Linked DNA regions of Homo sapiens: regions 1 and 2 are each linked to region 3. The links are contacts of gene promoters, found by promoter capture Hi-C in human tissues and cell types (Jung and others, 2019). All regions are on one chromosome and are shown on one strand. Each heading gives the region's core, a stretch centred on a gene start or on the middle of the fragment in contact. The rest is flanking DNA. Distances are from core to core; before and after follow the strand shown. Region 1 holds the start of SPINK8 (serine peptidase inhibitor Kazal type 8 (putative)). Region 2 holds the start of CSPG5 (chondroitin sulfate proteoglycan 5). Region 3 overlaps MAP4 (microtubule associated protein 4).

Region 1 (3,492 bases), core at 472-2,971, 350 kb before region 3:
CAGTTGCCCACGTGTGCACCCCTACCTTTCCTTCTGACCCATACCTCCTGGGTCCCGACCATGACTTTCTTGAAAGTGTAGCCCCAAAAATTCTCCTTACCTCTGAATCTACTTCCTCCAATCCCTGCCTCCTAGGTACTAATGCTTCAGACTTTCATTTCCTCTCCCAAGTATTAGAGCAAGTTGTATCTCCAAAGAGATCTAAGGAAGCTCTATGCTGTGGCCTTAGATATCTAGGCTATGAACCCAGGGAGTCTTGCCCCTGGTGTCCCTCCCAATTTAGGTATATAGCTGTCAACATGGGCTGTTATGTGGGACCCATTCCCCACCACCCTTGCCAGGGCCCCAAGTTTGTAAATAGCTAGGAAGATCGCTCTCCCATTGTGTAAGATGCTCTCCTCCCCTAATTTCTACCCAGTTTACTACCCCCTGCAATACAATCTCCAAGCCTTGGCTCCTTGGCCAGGCCCTTAGAACTGATAACCCAGTATTTTAACAACTGGAACTGAGTCTACAACAACATAATAGATCAGGATGAAAACGAATTTGAGTAAATTAAAGGGAGGCACATGTTCCTATAGTGGCAAACTGGGGCAACAAGTGAACGTCCTTCCACTGCGTTTCCAAAATCCATCTAAAAAAAGACAGACAGAGAGAGGAAGAGGCAGAAAGTCAAAGAGAGAAAGAAAGAAAAAAGGGAAAGAGAGAGGTAGTAAAGAAAAAACAGTGTACCCTATTCCTTTAAAAGCCAAGGTAAATTTAGAACCTATAATTGATAATTAAAGGTCTTCTCCACGACCCTATAATACTCCAATACTACCTTGTTGTCAGTGTAAACAAGGGCGTAGCCCGAAAACACTGAGACCACTGACAACCCATAGCCTTCCTATCAAAAATCCTGAACCCAGTAACCCGTGGATGGCCCAAATGCATTCAATCTGTAGTGGCAACTGCTTTGCTAACAGAATAAAGTAGAAAAATAACCTTTAGAGGAAACCTCATTGTGAGCACACCTCACCAGTTCAGAACAATCCTAAGACCAAAAAAAAAAAAAAAAAAAGGTAGCTTACTAGCTCAAAATTCTTAAAGTATGGGGCTATTCTGTTAGAAAAAGGTGATTTAACACCAACCACTGATAATTCCCTTAACCCAGCAGATTTCCTAACAGGGGATTTAAATCTTAATTGCCATGCAAAGGTCCAACCAGACCTAGGAGGAACTTCCTTTAGGATAGGACGATAGATGGTTCCTCCCAGGCGATTGAGGAAAAAACCACAATGGGTATTCAGTAATTGATAAGGAAACTCTTGTGGAAGCAGAGTTAGGAGAATTGCCTCATAATTGGTCTGCACAAACTGCGAGCTGTTTGCACTCAGCCAAGCCTTAAAGTACTTACAAAAAGAGCAAGCCCATCTTTTTCTCCTCGCTCTCCTTCTCGTAGGAAAAAGGCACATAGGATAAACAGGAGCCATCTCTCATATTTCGTACCCAAAAGGACTTAATCCAGGGCAACAAAATCTTAAGTTCGATAATTAAGGCATATTCCTACAAAGGAAAAGGACAAAGGCCCTAGTGGGCAAAAACTCTATCTCAATCCTGACTCAAAAGGTTACCTACACCCTCTCTGAAACGAATTTGCATAAGAACTGTTGTTTATGAAAATGCATCTTGATGGGGCAACTGGGTTGTTATGAAATACTCAGAAACCCAGCCCAGCTCTAGAACTCACTCCTGAGTGCAAAGGCAATGTCAGGCACGCTGGTAAAGGACCACTAGAATCCAGCAGCCCAGACCCCTTTCTTTGTGGTCAAGAAGGGCAGGAAAACAGGTGCAGGACTGCTACATCGGTGAGTGTAACTAATCTGATAAGCAGAGGTCCGTGGGTGGTTACGCACCCTGAAAAGGAATAAGCATTAGGACCACAGAGGACGCTCTAGGACTAATGCTCATCAGAAAATGACTAGGGGTGCTGGCATCCCTATGTTCTTTTTAAACGTTCCCCCCTCCCAGGCAAAAACGCCCCTAAGATGTATTCTAGAGAATTAGGACCAATTTGACCCTCAGATGCTAAGAAAGAAACGACTTATATTCTTCTGCAGTACCCCTGGCCACAATATCCTCTTCAAGAGGGAGAAACATGCCCTCCAAGGGAAGTATAAATTATAACACCATCTTACAGCTAGACTTCTTTTGTAGAAAATAGGGCAAATGGAGCGAAGTGCCATATGTGCAAACTTTCTTTTCATTAAGAGACAACTCACAATTATGTTAAAAGTGTGATTTATGCCCTACAGGAAGCCCTCAGAATCTACCCCCCTGCCCCGGCGTTCCCCCGGCTCCTTCCCCAACTAATAATGACCCCCCTTCAACACAAACGGTGCCAAAGGAGATAGAGAAAGGGGTAAACAATGAACCAAAGAGTGCCAATATTCCCAGATTATGCCCCCTTGAAGTGGTGGGAGGAGGAGAATTCAGCCCAGAGTGTGTGTACCTTTTTCCCTCTCAGACTTGAAGCAAATTAAAATAGACCTAGGTAAATTCTCAAATAACCCTGATGGCTATATTGATGTTTTACAAGGGTTAGGACAATCCTTTGATCTGACATGGAGAGACATAATGTTACTGCTAGATCAGATACTAACCCCAAATGAGAGAAGTGCCGCTATAACTGCAGCCCAAGAGTTTGGCAATCTCTGGTATCTCAGTCAGGTCAATGATAGGATGACAACAGAGGAAAGAGAACGATTCCCCACAGGCCAGCAGGCAGTTCCCAGTGTAGACCCTCAATGGGACGCAGAATCAGAATGTGGAGATTGGTGCCGCAGACATTTGCTAACTTGCATGCTAGAAGGACTAAGAAAAACTAGGAAGAAGCCTATGAATTATTCAATGATGCCCACTATAACACAGGGAAAGGAAGAAAATCCTACTGCCTTTCTGGAGAGACTAAGGGAGGCATTGAGGAAGCATACCTCTCTGTCATCTGGATCTATTGAAGGCCAACTAATCTTAAAGGGTAAGTTTATCACTCAGCTGCAGACATTAGAAAAAAACTTCAAAATCCGCCTTAGGCCTGGAACAAAACTTAAACTAAGAACTTGGCCTCAGTTTTTATAATAGAGATCAGAAGGAGCAGGCAGAACTGGACAAACGGGATAAAAAGAAGGCCACCGCTTTAGTCATGGCCTTCAGGCAAGTGGACTTTGGAGGCTCTGGAAAAGTGAAAGGCTGGGCAAATCGAATGCCTAATAGGGATTTGATTCCAGTGCGGTCTACAAGGACACTTTAAAAAAGATTGTCCGAATAGAAATAAGCCACCCCCTCATCCATGCCCCTTATTTCAAGGGTATCACTGGAAGGCCCACTGCCCCAGGGGATGAAGGTCCTCTGAGTCAGAAGCCACTAACCAGATGATCCAGCAGCAGGACTGAGGGTGCCTGGGGCAAGCGCCAGCCCCTGGCATCACCCTCCCCAGGTATGCTTGACCACTGA
Region 2 (3,175 bases), core at 148-2,647, 400 kb after region 3:
CTGTGCACTCAAGTGCCTTGCAGTCCAGTGAGGAATAACTGTAGATAAGATGAGATGATGGGCATTAAGTGTAACTGCTGAGAAGCCTTCATAGAGGGAAAGGTGATAAGAACTGAGTTTTTCTGGCATGAGGAGTTTACCAGGCAGGAGAGGTGGAGACGCTAGGCTAGGCAAATAGGCTGCAGCCATAGTTCTGCTGAGAAACAGGTTTTGAACCAAGGCAACTCCATCTGGAGATATGTATCAGAAAGATTAGGAGATAGAATCTCCATCTTGGTCACTTATTTGGTCTTCTAAGACAGCAATGGGACCGTCTCTTAAATACTGGAGTTGTCCTATCTCCTTGGGCTGATACCCTGAACTGTCATTTGGGTGAGTAACACATTAAGGGGTAGACGGTCGGTTTGGGGGAATAAACTAAGTAACTAGGTTGCGGTTCCTCCTGCCGACTAAGCAGACCTCCTGGTGCGTGGTCTTGGGTTGCCCTGTGAGCCCTGAAGCTGTGAATGGGCCCCACAGATCACTCTAAAGCCAAGCATCCATGTGTGCCCGGCTGGGGATCTAGACCCCCCTGGTCTACCCAGGAACCTGAGTTTTGGTGGTCTGAGACACCTGGGGGACGACGTATCCCGGAGAAGGGACCAGGATTAAAGGCCGCTCCCCAGGCTGCCCGGAGACTAGAAGGAAGGCGAGGTAGCCGCAGTCCCAGGGAGGGTCTTACCCCTTGCTCCCGGGATGCGTTATGGCGGGCCTGGCTGTGCGAGATCTAGGCTAGTGGCTTTGGCTGCGAACGGATTAGATCTGATCCGATTAGAGCCTGGGCGGTCGGCTTCGCCCCCTTGCCAGGCTCTGCCAACGCCCGCCCCTCCCTCGTGGAGACCCGGAGACCTCCCTGAGAGCCTTCCCGCCCGGAACACGGGATTGGTGCAGAATCCGAGAGGCTCCATGCGCCCCGGGCCTGGCTTGTTTCCACAGTGGGGGCTCGTGCTTCCGCCCCCTGCGGCTCTTCTGGACCCCGCCCCGACCCTGCGGGTAACTGGGCCCGCGACGTCCCCGCCTCCGTGCTTGCCGCGTGGCGGGTGGGTTCCTCCGGGTCGGGGCCCCGTGCCGCCTGTTCACCTGGGGCGGGACCGTGGCCCCATCCCACAGGTCTCCCGCCCGTGCACCTGCCGCCTAACGCCGCGCGCCGCGCCGTGCGCCTGCCTCGCGCTCCCCGTCCGCCTGCCCCGCACTCCCCGTCCGTGTGTCTCCTAGTCCCCAGCGAGGGGTCTGTCTGTTCCCCTGGCAGGCTGACCAAGGGGCCGGCGTCACCGCTACGTGCGGCGGGGCCGGCGCGGCGGGCGGGGTGAGGGCGGCGCTGAGCGCAGCGGCGGCAGCGGCGGCGCGGGAGGCGGGGAGGCGCGGCGCGCCGGGGACAGCGGCGGACGGCGGCGGCGGCGGCATGCGGCTCCTCGCGCTGCCCATCGTGGGCTGAGGCGGCCGCAGAACCGGCGGGAGGCGCGGCGGCCGGGCGAGCCGAGGGCGCAGCCAGCCGGGCGGACCGCGGACAGCGGTCGGGGCGCCGCGCCATGGGGCGAGCCGGGGGCGGGGGCCCGGGCCGGGGGCCGCCGCCACTGCTGCTGTTTCTGGGGGCCGCGCTGGTCCTGGCCTCTGGGGCCGTGCCGGGTAGGTATGACTGCGCCCGGGACCCCCGCGGCCCTCGTGCCCCACCCAGGGCAGGGGTCCCGCTGGCGGCGGGGACAGGTGGAGCTGTGAGCTGTGGCAAGGGGGCGGGGCACCGCCTGGCCGCGGCCGGGCGGCGGAATGGTCCCAGGAGGTGGTGGGGGTCCGGGAAAGGCCGACCCGCGTGGGGGCCGACCCCGGTTGGGGTAGCCGGGACCCAAGCGCGCGGGCCGCGGTGCGGACTGGGGGCGGGGCCGGGGGCGGGGCCGGGGCGGGGCCGGGGCGGGGCCTGAGGGTGAGACTTCGGGGCGGGACCTGGAGCTGAGGGCGGGAGCCAGTGGACGCGGCTCAGGGTGGGTTCCCGAGGGTGAGACTTATGGGTGGGCCGAGCTGGGGGCCGCCCTGGCCTGGCTCTTCAGACGGCGGGGCAGGTCGGGCGGGGCCGAGCCGCGAGGCGTTGGGCGGGGTGTGATCCTCGTCTTGGGGGCAGACTCCGGGACGGGGCTTAGAGGTACCGGGTGGCTGGGGTCACACTGGGGCGGTGGGGTCTGAGGGTGGCGAGGTCTGGGTTGACCAGGTCTAGGCGAGCGGGCCTGACCGGGGCGGGCCGGGGCTCCAGGGCTCCTCAGCGCGCCGCCCTGACGTCCCGCCCCTTGCCCTCCCGCCCGCAGCGCGTGAGGCGGGCAGCGCGGTTGAGGCCGAAGAGCTGGTGAAGGGCAGCCCGGCGTGGGAGCCGCCTGCCAACGACACGCGGGAAGAAGCCGGCCCACCAGCGGCTGGGGAAGATGAGGCGTCGTGGACGGCGCCCGGTGGCGAGCTGGCCGGGCCAGAAGAGGTGCTGCAGGAGTCGGCTGCGGTGACCGGCACCGCCTGGCTGGAAGCTGACAGCCCAGGCCTGGGAGGAGTGACCGCAGAGGCGGGCAGCGGCGATGCCCAGGCCCTTCCAGCTACGCTCCAGGCTCCCCACGAGGTCCTCGGGCAGTCAATCATGCCCCCTGCCATTCCTGAGGCTACAGAGGCCAGCGGGCCACCCTCCCCCACCCCCGGCGACAAGCTGAGCCCAGCTTCTGAACTCCCCAAGGAGAGCCCCTTGGAGGTTTGGCTGAACCTGGGGGGCAGCACACCCGACCCTCAAGGGCCAGAGCTGACTTACCCATTTCAGGGCACCCTGGAGCCCCAACCGGCATCAGATATCATTGACATCGACTACTTCGAAGGACTGGATGGTGAGGGTCGTGGCGCAGATCTGGGGAGCTTCCCAGGGTCACCAGGAACCTCAGAGAACCACCCTGATACTGAGGGAGAGACCCCTTCCTGGAGCCTGCTTGACTTATACGATGATTTCACCCCCTTCGATGAATCTGATTTCTACCCCACCACATCCTTTTATGATGACTTGGATGAAGAGGAGGAGGAAGAGGAGGATGACAAAGATGCAGTAGGAGGTGGAGACCTAGAAGATGAAAATGAGCTTCTAGTGCCCACTGGGAAGCCTGGTCTGGGGCCCGGGACA
Region 3 (3,164 bases), core at 299-2,798:
AATAGCTTTTGAATAATTTTCTGGTTTCCAAGCCAGTTGAAATGTGTTCTGCTGCATCTTATATGAAAGTCACATTTTATGAATCAGAAATTCCCTTTTGCACATTTTAGGTCAAAAATACCAGGGAGGCCGGGCATGGTGACTCACACTTGTAATCCTAGCTCTTTGGGAGGCAGAGGCGGGAAGAGTACTTGAAGCCAGGAGTTTGATACCAGCCCCAGCAACACAGCAAGACTGCATCTCTACAAAGAAAAAAAAAATAAAAAATTAACTGGGTGTGGTGGTAGTCTTAACTACTCAGGAGGCTGAGGCAGGAGGAAAGGCAGGGAGAAAGTAAACAGATATGTGCAAATGAGACTTCCATTATGCATATTATTCGCAATTAAATCTCATTATTTATGCCCTTCACTGGAAAAAAAAATTACCTTTAATTGCACAGATCATTTATAAAAAGACTGTTGGAGTTATGCTCCAAAGCCCACAATGACAGAGATAGTGTGTCAGAGGGACACAGGAGTCAACTGAAAGAGTTCCCAATAGCCAACACTGGAAAAATTTGAGCAACAAAATAAATAAAGTAGCATTGAATTAAAGCTCAGTGGACGAGGCTGATCATGGTGGCTCACGCCTGTAGTCCCAGCTACTTGGGAGACTGAGGCAGGAGTACCACTTGAGCCCAGGAGTTTGAGACCAGCCTGAGCAACTTAGTGAGACCCTGTCTTTATACAAATAGAATTGTCTGGGCGTGGTGGCTCACTCCTGTAATCCCAGCACTTTGGGAGGCCGAAGCAGGTGGATCACCTGAGGTCAGGAGTTAGAGACCAGCCTGGCCAACACGGTGAAATCCTGTTTCTACTAAAAATACAAAAAATTAGCCGGGCATGGTGGCACATGCCTGTAGCCCCAGCTACTCAGGAGGCTGAGGCATGAGAATCGCTTGAACCTGGGAGGCAGAGGTTGCAGTGAGCTGAGATTGTGCCACTGCACTCCAGCCTGGGTGACAGAGGGAGACTCAGTCTCAAATTAAATAAATAAATAAATAAATAAATAAGCCAACTGTGGCGGTGCACACCTGTTGTCACCATATACTTGGGAGGCTGAGGGAGGAGGATCATTTGAACCCAGCATTTTGAGGTTACAGTGAGGTGTGATTATACCACTGCATTCCAGCCTGGGCAACAGAGCAAAACCCTCTCTCTTAAAAATTAAGTCAAAATCTTTGCCGGGTGCCATGGCTCATGCCTGTAATTCTATCACTTTGGGAGGCTGAGGCAGGCAGATCACTTGAGGTCGGGAGTTTGACATCAGCCTGGCCAATATGGTGAAAACCTGTCTCTAATGAAGATAAAAAAATTAGCTGAGAGTGGTGGCGCACGCCTGTAGTCCCAGCTACCAGCTACTTGGGATGTTGAGACAGGAGAATTGCTTGAACCCGGGAGACAGAGGTTGCAGTGAGCCAAGATTGCGCCACTGCACTCCAGTCTTGGCGATAGAGCTAGACTCTGTCTCAAACAAAAAACAAAGAAAACTCCCTTCATTTTCATGTAATCTTATTTATTTCCTCAAGAAGGGTAGATCTTTTAAGACTTTATTCTTTGCAGTTACAAACATACAATAAAAAATTTAGTGGCTTTACTTTCATTTGATTCCATTTTACAAATGGAATCAAATCGTATGAATTTTAACTTGCTTTTTTTAGTTTATTATCTTAGAAAACTTTCTGTCAGTATATATCAAGCTTTCTTTTTAACTTGGTCTAAAGTAGTGGTCTTAACTTTTGGTCACATACTCAGAATTCTGATAAATTCTGTCTCTTTGTACATTAAGTTTACATCTAAAATTTTGTAGCAAAAGTTTAGTTGTAAAACATGTAATTTTGAGAATGTTTTACTTTTGCCACATAAAAATAAGTTACCTCATTCTGCTAAATGTATCCAAATGCTTCTAAATATATAGCATTTTGGTTTCCATCATCTAGTTTAAAAATATACGAACAAGCTGTTCTTTATCATTGGAAATTTAAATTCTTCTTTTGAGTCCTTGAACTTTTATTTCCATAACATGTCTCAGACTTTTATCCTAATGTAATATATTTTTATGCTTAAAAGTTTTTTCTTGATTGTGCTAATATGTTTCTGCTACTAAATATGTATGTAAACTTAAATTTTAATTTTTAAAGTTCCTGTGACAAAGGTTCTGTGTTTTAACTTGGTCCAGAGGAAATTTATCAGTCTATTGCATGTATTATGTTTTTTTTAAATCTCCCTTCATTTTCACTTAATCCTATTTGTTTCCTCAAGAAGAGTAGAGATGGGCTTTACTGTGTTGACCAGGCTGGTCTCGAATTCCTGGCCTCAAGTGATCTGCTCACCTTGGCTTCCCAAATTGCTGGGATTACAGGCATGAGCCACTGTGCCCGGCCAACATAGGTTGTAATTTTTGATGTTATTACTATACAAGTTGAATTTTATTGGAAATGCTTTTCTTATGAGATGATGGGGTCTGTTATTTTTCTCAATTAAATCATGGGTCTGTGGATCAATATTTCTTTCTCTGATGAAATAGGATTGGCAATTTTTCCTGTTTTTGTAGCTATCATAGTGAAGAAACCCTAATCACATAGGTAAATATATGGGAATAAAGCTTTTTTTTTTTTTTGGGAGATGGAGTCTTGCTCTGTCGCCCAGACTGGAGTGCAGTGGCACGATCTCAGCTCACTGCAACCTCTGCCTCCCAGGTTCAAGCTATTCTTGTGCTTCAGCCTCTAGAGTAGTTGTGATTCACACGCCACTATGCCTGGCTAATTTTTTGTATTTTAGTAGATATGGGGTTTCACCGCATTGGCCAGGCAGGTCTCGAACTCCTGACCTCAAGTGATCCACCTGCCTCAGCCTCCCAAAGTGCTGGGATTATAGGCTTGAGCCACTGCACCTGGCCAGGTTCTTTTTTATTATTATTATTTTTTATTACGAGATAAGGACTATAGGCGTGTGCCACCACACCCAGCTAATTTATTTATTTATTTATTTATTTTTAGAGATGGGGTCACACTATGTTGCCCAGGCTGGTCTCAAATTCCTGGACTCAAGACACCCCTCTGCCTTAGCCTCCCTAATAGCTGGGACTATAGGCATACCCTAGGGTGTCTTGGCCTTTATCTATAT

Evidence for each region. The method cuts DNA at HindIII sites, captures the fragments that hold promoters and counts their contacts. A contact is called where the count stands out against the background at its distance.
Region 1: a contact is called between the fragment with the promoter of SPINK8 here and a fragment that was not itself captured in region 3, in 1 of the 25 tissues and cell types used here (dorsolateral prefrontal cortex).
Region 2: the fragment with the promoter of CSPG5 here is called in contact with a fragment that was not itself captured in region 3 in 2 of the 25 tissues and cell types used here (liver and lymphoblastoid cells).

What each region holds. Positions count from the first base shown.
Region 1 is chr3:48,331,890-48,335,381 of GRCh38, reverse strand. SPINK8 (serine peptidase inhibitor Kazal type 8 (putative)) reads left to right here and starts at 1,721. Exons shown (of 8, transcript NM_001080525.3): 1 at 1,721-1,847; 2 at 2,911-3,016. RefSeq lists a silencer at 1,176-1,376. The HindIII fragment of the contact is 10,965 bases long and covers 1-3,492 here.
Region 2 is chr3:47,577,087-47,580,261 of GRCh38, reverse strand. CSPG5 (chondroitin sulfate proteoglycan 5) reads left to right here and starts at 1,397. Exons shown (of 5, transcript NM_006574.4): 1 at 1,397-1,665; 2 at 2,334-3,175. The coding sequence starts at 1,569. RefSeq lists an enhancer at 68-772 and silencers at 1,897-1,946, 1,987-2,046, 2,097-2,186. The HindIII fragment of the contact is 21,614 bases long and covers 1-3,175 here.
Region 3 is chr3:47,981,261-47,984,424 of GRCh38, reverse strand. The region is part of intron 2 of MAP4 (microtubule associated protein 4); the gene reads left to right. Among named protein-coding and RNA genes, the nearest start is that of MAP4, 34 kb to the left of the region's middle. The HindIII fragment of the contact is 4,461 bases long and covers 1-3,164 here.